2 separate regions of the Homo sapiens genome follow, and region 1 is linked to region 2. The links are contacts of gene promoters, found by promoter capture Hi-C in blood cells and fetal thymus (Javierre and others, 2016). All regions are on one chromosome and are shown on one strand. The core of a region is centred on a gene start or on the middle of the fragment in contact, and the rest is flanking DNA. Distances in the headings are between cores, read along the strand shown.

Region 1 (3,660 bases), core at 978-3,477, 320 kb after region 2:
TCAGACCATTAGCTTGATTACAGATAAAAGCAGAAGTGGAGCTTTTGGCTTTAGACCTATGCTCAAAAGGACTTAACAACCTTCTCGCTCTGGGTTAAACAGACTAATCTACCCTGTCACAAACATAGTTGTACCAACCTACAGACTTTCTCCACTCAGAAGAGCTTATTATTTTTCATAAAAATGTTATGTATGTGAACATGTAATAGGTTTATTTTGTGTTATTTAGAATGAATTAATAAGTAAATGTTTAAAGATAGCTCAGTTGCAATTTCTAATATTAATCTATATAACTTACATAAACAAAACTTCTTCTCAGCAATTTTTAACAGTTTAAAAGGAATCTTAGACCAAAACGTTTGAGAACCTCTGTTCTAATGGAAACATGGGAAGCTAAGAACATTTTTTAGAGTTGTTTAATTCTTGTTTATTAATTTTTCAGTTTCTAGAACACTAAATTTTGTGCTAAGAAATGGCACATATGATCTTGCTTTAAAGGAATTTACCATATTTCATGGACTCTAAAAACACATTTTTTTTCACATTTTAACATCTCTGAACTTGAGATACATCTTAAAATGGATAGCATCTTTTTATGGCCAAGTGGCAGTTGCCATGTAGTTGTCATAGTCTGTTTATATGGAAACTTGGGTAATTACTCTTGGGAGCATGGTGAACCTGGTAATTATTACTGGTTGTAGCCTGAAAGCTTTTGTTGACACCTGCTGGTAAGATCAAGAAAATCAAGAAAACACAGGTATCAGCATAGCAGAATGACTGTCCATAGGTTGGAAGAAAATCTTGGAGACAATAGTGGAGCACTTTTAAGAAATATTAAAAGTGGATTTTAAATGTTCTTACCACAAAGTATGCAAAAGAGTGATCTGTGATGCAATCTGTGTATGAGTATGTCTAAATATCAGTGAGGATCAAATAAAAATTCTGTTTAAAAAAAGCACTGCATGGTGCTTCTTAACAATCAGTAGAGTCTCTTATATTTGATATGATTAAAATTTAATGAAAAGTATGAGTCCTTCTCTAATGAGAACAAGTTCACATAATAAACACCATGTAAGTTGAGAGGTAGAAGACAGCTATGTGAAGTGAAGGCATTAGGGAAATCTTCATGAAGGATGTGGAGCCTGAACAGGGCCTTGAAGGTGGACTTGAGAAATATAACATTCATTGATAACATTAGATGCATACATTTATGATTATCAGTATTTTAGAAAGAATATATAATAACTGTAGAAGGTTTATTTAGTTTTTCATTTTGTATGTATTTCTAAGCTTGGTCTTGGTTGCTGTCTTTTCTTTCCTGGACTTTTGATCTTCCTGCTACCACTCTTTCCTATTTTGGTATGTCTAGCATGCAGCAGTCAAGTTATTCTTTCAAAATGCAAATATGATTGTTATTCCTCTCCTAATGGATTTCTCTCAACTAGAAAAAAAAAAATCTGAAGTTCTCACCGTGGCTTACAAAGGCCCTGGCTGCCTCTCATCTCCTTTTGTGCCACTTTCCCTCTTCCCAGCCTCATTTACCTTCGTGTGGTTCTTCATATGTGACAAGCACGTTCCCCTCTCAGGCTCATACATTTGCTCTTCCCTCTGCCCAGAGTGAGCTTCCCCCAGATATGCTCAGGGCTTGATCCTTCACTTCACTCAGGTCTTTTCAAATAGCACCTCCTCCAAAGTGGCCCCTTCCGCCACCCCTTCTGAAGCACACTCTCCCTGCTCTCTCTCTCCTTCTCTGTTTCTCTTCACAGCACTTAACCTTCTCTTATATTACATATTTGTTTGCCTTTCATACCAGATGTCACCTCCCTGAGGACAGTGACTTTCTCTTTTTGTTCATATTGTATCCCCAGGGTCTAGAATGGAGTCTGGCACATGGTAGCCTCTCAATAAATACTTATTGAATGAATGGACTTAAATCAGTCAGAAAAAAATAATTTTTTGTCCAATATTAATAAAATATTGCTCTTCTCTCTTGATGGAGAATAGGAAATGAACAATATGTCATCAGCAGCAGAATATTACAAAGAAGTTTTGAAACAAGACAATACTCATGTGGAAGCCATCGCATGCATTGGAAGCAACCACTTCTATTCTGATCAGCCAGAAATAGCTCTCCGGTTTTACAGGTGCACTTCACATCCAATTCTTAGAACCACTTTCCTGTGAAATATTGATAAAATAATAAGAAAGATGGAATGAAAGTATAGAGAAATAAGGTATAGGCCATGTCTTTATGAAACTCAAATGTCAACACTGAGATATATAATGAGCATTGAAGTGACATCCAATAATTTGGAAACATGCAGATGTCTGGCATCTTGCAGAAACACACTGGACAACTGACTGAGTTTTAAACCTCATTGTCATTGTATGTGTTAGCCATTTTGTCATCAACCAATAAGTTGAATAGTTACTTAAAACTTATCATCATCATTGCCTCCGTTAATACCATTAAACATAAAGACACTGAAATTGAAAGGTGAAAAGATTTGCAAAGAGCATTTGGCCTCATGTTCTGAACCTTGATGAGGACCTGAAACAGAATCACCTGTTTTGTGCAGCATTGTTGGTTCTTGTCCCAATATTTTTTCAGTCTAAATAAATTATATTCACTGATTCTCTTTTAAGTACTTATTTCATCCTACATATGACTTCTGAAATTAATTTTTAAATTATGATTTCCTCCTTAGCCCTTGGGTAATATAGAAAGAGATGACTGGCAGCTGACAAGGGTTCTTTCCAAATATGTGTTGGAGGCATAAAATGTAATAATAAGAACACTATTCTGTGCACCTGCAGCTGACTCTACTCCCCAACCCCCAAAGTGGGTCATGGGTTTCTCACGGCAGCTGGGCTGGATTTTCATTTGCTCATATGAACTCGCTTGTCCTTTGTCCCATGGGATTAATTATGCATAGAAGCAAATGGGGCTCTTGAGCTGCAGTGTGAGAGCTAAGTGGATAATGTAAGGATCCGCTGATGGTCTTGTCTTCCTCAGTGGAAGCTCATTGGAGTTCAGTAGACACAGCTGAAGCACAAAGTACAGCGAGCCAAAAACGGGATCCAGTCAGCTGAAAACGTAGAGGTTAATGCTAAACGCAGTCCTCAAATTAGATTAGGTTTTAGGAATTTACCCTATGGGCAGCAAAGCTTTATAAAGCTGAAGTGTGTGGGCGTTACTTTTTGTGACTATTTCTTATTTTGGTTCTCTAACAAAGCATTTGGGGAGAAAACTTAGATCAGTTGTTTGTCTTTGTCTCTAGACACATTCCCCATGACTAGTACCATTATGAAAGAGAGGTGTTTGTATTTGCTTTAAACATTTTTTCATTTACTATAACACGTATTTATATTCTTAAGGAGTATCAAAAATCACAAGATGAATTCATTTTTAACTGTGTAAAATATATATATATATGTCTTAAAACTTACAAAGTTGGTCTGACACCAAAATTTGTGTGTTCTTTTTTGAAAAGGCGGCTGCTGCAGATGGGCATTTATAACGGCCAGCTTTTTAACAATCTGGGGCTGTGTTGCTTCTATGCCCAGCAGTATGATATGACTCTGACCTCATTTGAACGTGCCCTTTCTTTGGCTGAAAATGAAGAAGAGGCAGCTGATGTCTGGTACAACTTGGGACAT
Region 2 (3,517 bases), core at 890-3,389:
ATATTTAAGGATTATAAATATGCATACTAAACACCCTTTCATGAGATCAGATGGTGGGTTTCAATTTTACATAAAAATTATGGTAACTGGAAACCGGGCGGATTAAGTAGTGTAGATGAACAGACAAGATATTGCATATGTGTAGAGGAAAGATAAATATTTGTATTAGGTGCCATTCAAATATGGTAGTCTTTTCACTACATAGAACTATGCCTTGAAAGCAATAGATACTACACTGTATAACTTAATTATTAACTTAAGCTCTGATTAAGCAAACTCAGTAAAACTTTCAATTGTCCCTCAGACTTGAAATGTATTACTGCATCAGGGATAAAGGAAAAGTCAAAATTATCTCTTATTTTGGTAGATGAAATTGAAAAAGTTGCAGTGTGTGTGTACATGGTGCATCCCCCCAAGATCTATCCATAAGAATGGCTTGCTTTTTGCTTATTTATATAAAACCCACTATGTTAAAACAATGATTTTGTTTAATAATTTACAAATTTATCAATGATTTATACATCTTAATTTTCAGTAATATGCAGTATTTGTTGCCAAATGGTGTAATACAATTATGAATGTCTGAAGATAATAAAACCAAGATGAGTAGAAATTTAAGAGTTCTTTGGGGAGGTCTGTTTCAGGTATAAAATAATATGCAATAATATGAAAGTGATTGGGTCTGGAATTATAATTTACTAAAGTAAACATAATTTATAAATAGCTATTAAAGGAAAACTAGGATATAATTTTTTCTCTACAAAATCTTTCCGTTTTGTGGTAAGTAAACAGATACATACTAGATTCTGCTTCAGTACAAGTTTACAAAAGGCAGTCTGAACTATTTGTGAATTCATTTTAATTTTCCCTCTCTACAACCCTTTCCAAAAGTTCCTCAAATACACTTTACCTCTCAATCTTACAGCGTTTCCCCTTTCCTATTAAGGTCCTTACCACATGTAATTTTGCCAAAGTTGCTTTAAAATAAAATAAGCACTAAAAGGAGAGAGTATGTGACATTTTTAGAGTAATATCTATAGCTATAGCATTAAACCCATGTTTCTCACGGAGAAAACATCTGTGCGTAGATGCTCCAGAATAAAATGCCCTAGAAACGAAACGGACTATATTCAGAGTAAAATTACTGTCGTGTCCCAAACTTAAAAAAATAAATAAACTGTCAGCAACTATTAGGCATACAGCAGTTGTCACTTGGAGCACACGAATGTTCTGAATGTGTTTGTGAGCATACGCTATTAGTATAAGGCTTTCTCAGCAAAAAAGAAAATAGGACGAGCATGCCAAGAGCGGCCAATCTAATCAGGATTTGCAGAAATCACAAGTCGGAATTTGCAGATCCAAGAATTCTTGTTTCCAGAGTAAATACTCTACTCCAAAAACAAACCCAGGCGTTACCAAACAGTCCTTCCCTGCGCCCCTTCTCGCCAAAGTTATCTGGCGAATTTCACGTTTATATATTCTGAGAGGCACAAATATGCCTAACACATTTAAAACCCTGATCCAGAATTAACCCGCAACAATCGGCCAGGGCGTTCGGAATAGAAGTTCAAGACTCCTTTTAGAAATTACTCAAGTATATGAGAGCGAACCTGAAAAACAAGACTTTTCTCTTTGTTACGCTCCCGCTACGGGTCTGGCCGCCGCGCCCCATTCTCCGGGATTCCGGGGCCGCGGGCGCGCTCCGGGGTCCGGGCGAGTGGACACACCCCACCGCTCGGGCCAGCCGCCCGCCCCTCCCGCCGGCCGGGGACCGCGCCCTCACCTGCTCCCGCTCCCGCTCCCGCATCCTCGGGGCCGCGCGCCCCGCTCAGCGACCCGCCTCCCGGGGCCCCGCCGCGCGGCCGCCGCAGCCGCACCCGCACGCCAGCCCGGGCCGCGGCGCGCTCATGGGGCTCGCACGCCTCACTTCCTGTCTCCAAAAACCCGGCTCGCAGACCATTCCCCTGGGCAGAGTCCGGCGGTGGCGACGGCGAGGGGCGAGGCCTGGAGGTGGGACCGGCCGGCGAGGAGCGCCGCACAAAGAAGCCCCGTGGGGGCGGGGGGTGGCAGGAGGACGGACAGACCGTCGGACCGACGCGGGACGCGCGGCCGGAGCAGCGGGGCGGCCGGGCCCAGGCGTCCCTCCCCCTGAGCCGGGCGGGCGGATCCGGGGAGGCGGCGGCGGCCCGTGACCTCAGAGAGTTGGAATGCGGGCAGCCGCGCGGGGGAGGCGCGGACAGCTGCGCCCGGCCGCCGGGGAGGGGGCGCGCCGCTGCTTTTTTTAATCGTATGACCACTTATTTTAAGAGTTTCCAAATAAAGCAAGGCTTTTAATAAAATGAGTGGAGGGGGTATTATTTAGGTTCCAGATAAAGGGTTTTATTCCTGTGTTATTAGGTAGGCTGTAAAATGCTGTTATTGATGGTTATTCGTTTACTCTGGTATATTTCTGAACACTATTGGAATACATTTCTTCTTTTCCTGCTTGCTCCTAAGGTTATGCCCCATATAACTAGACACTTCCAGTACTGGGTGGGAAAGCCCCCCCACCAAAAATGGTTCATATGCCTCAAATAACCTGTCAGTCCCCAAAAGGGAGCTGTCTGCTTATGCAATATAGAGCAGAACTGTTAAGGATGGAGACTTGACAAAGTTGTCAAATCCCAGCTCCAACATTTACTAGCTGGATGACCTTGTGCAAGTTTCTTAACTTCTCTTTACCTGTTTCCTCTCCTATAAAAGAGGGATATTAATATCTTTGCACAGCAGGGGTGGGGGAAATAAATACTAAGCAATATCCAATAACTTGTGTAAAGTATATATGAAGTGTTTCGTTTAAGGTTTATTATACAGTATTCTTGTACTGCATTATTACTGTATTGCAGCACTTAAGCTGAGGAATAAAACTGTGTGACCCTACCACTATTACAATAGTGTAAGATCTTTTCTTGGCATGTGGAACACAGAACCTTTTAATTTATGTAAATTTTAATTTCAGTGATTTTGTTTTAATGCTGTTGTTTCTGGAAAGCTTTTTAAAGTATTGTTTCATGTAAATCTCATTTTCTTAAACAATTAACAAAAACTTTTGAATACTTAACTCTGCATGAGACGTGGTCCCTGCACAACACGGACTTTTGGTTTAGTGGGTGATAAACGCACCTGCACACCACACACGCAGTACAAGGCCAAAGTGGGGAGCATTGTCATAGAGGTATGAGTGCTATCCAAGAGCAAAGCCCAGCAAGGTGCATCTTGGGTCGTTTAGCTAAAGGCAAATAAGATTACCTGTGTTTCTAAGGGAAAAAAAATAGATCAATTCTGTTTGTAATTGATATTTCAACTGAACTCTATGAGGGGGTCAATTTGTGTGTGAGCAAAGAAAAGAGATCTAAAAAGAAGTCACTTTGCTGGCTTCCCAAGGTAGAAAAACTGGAATCATGTGTGACTTCTCCCATTATCATCTCCAGCCTGTCATCAAGACCTGGTATTTCCTCCTTTGAAATGTCTCATGAAT

The links. The method cuts DNA at HindIII sites, captures the fragments that hold promoters and counts their contacts. A CHiCAGO score of 5 or more calls a contact.
Region 1: a fragment that was not itself captured here is called in contact with the fragment with the promoter of PTPN21 in region 2 in 1 of 17 cell types (naive CD8 T cells); the score reaches 5.3 in naive CD8 T cells.

The regions. Positions count from the first base shown.
Region 1 is chr14:88,868,055-88,871,714 of GRCh38, forward strand. TTC8 (tetratricopeptide repeat domain 8) reads left to right here. Exons shown (of 15, transcript NM_144596.4): 11 at 2,005-2,144; 12 at 3,495-3,660. Among named protein-coding and RNA genes, the nearest start is that of TTC8, 45 kb to the left of the region's middle. The HindIII fragment of the contact is 1,878 bases long and covers 1,289-3,166 here.
Region 2 is chr14:88,552,868-88,556,384 of GRCh38, forward strand. It overlaps PTPN21 (protein tyrosine phosphatase non-receptor type 21), which reads right to left and starts at 2,140. Exons shown (of 19, transcript NM_007039.4): 1 at 1,784-2,140. LOC124903405 (proline-rich protein 2-like) reads right to left here. Exons shown (of 2, transcript XM_047432047.1): 2 at 1,790-2,193. The coding sequence ends at 1,829. RefSeq lists a silencer at 2,098-2,147. The HindIII fragment of the contact is 3,064 bases long and covers 1-3,029 here.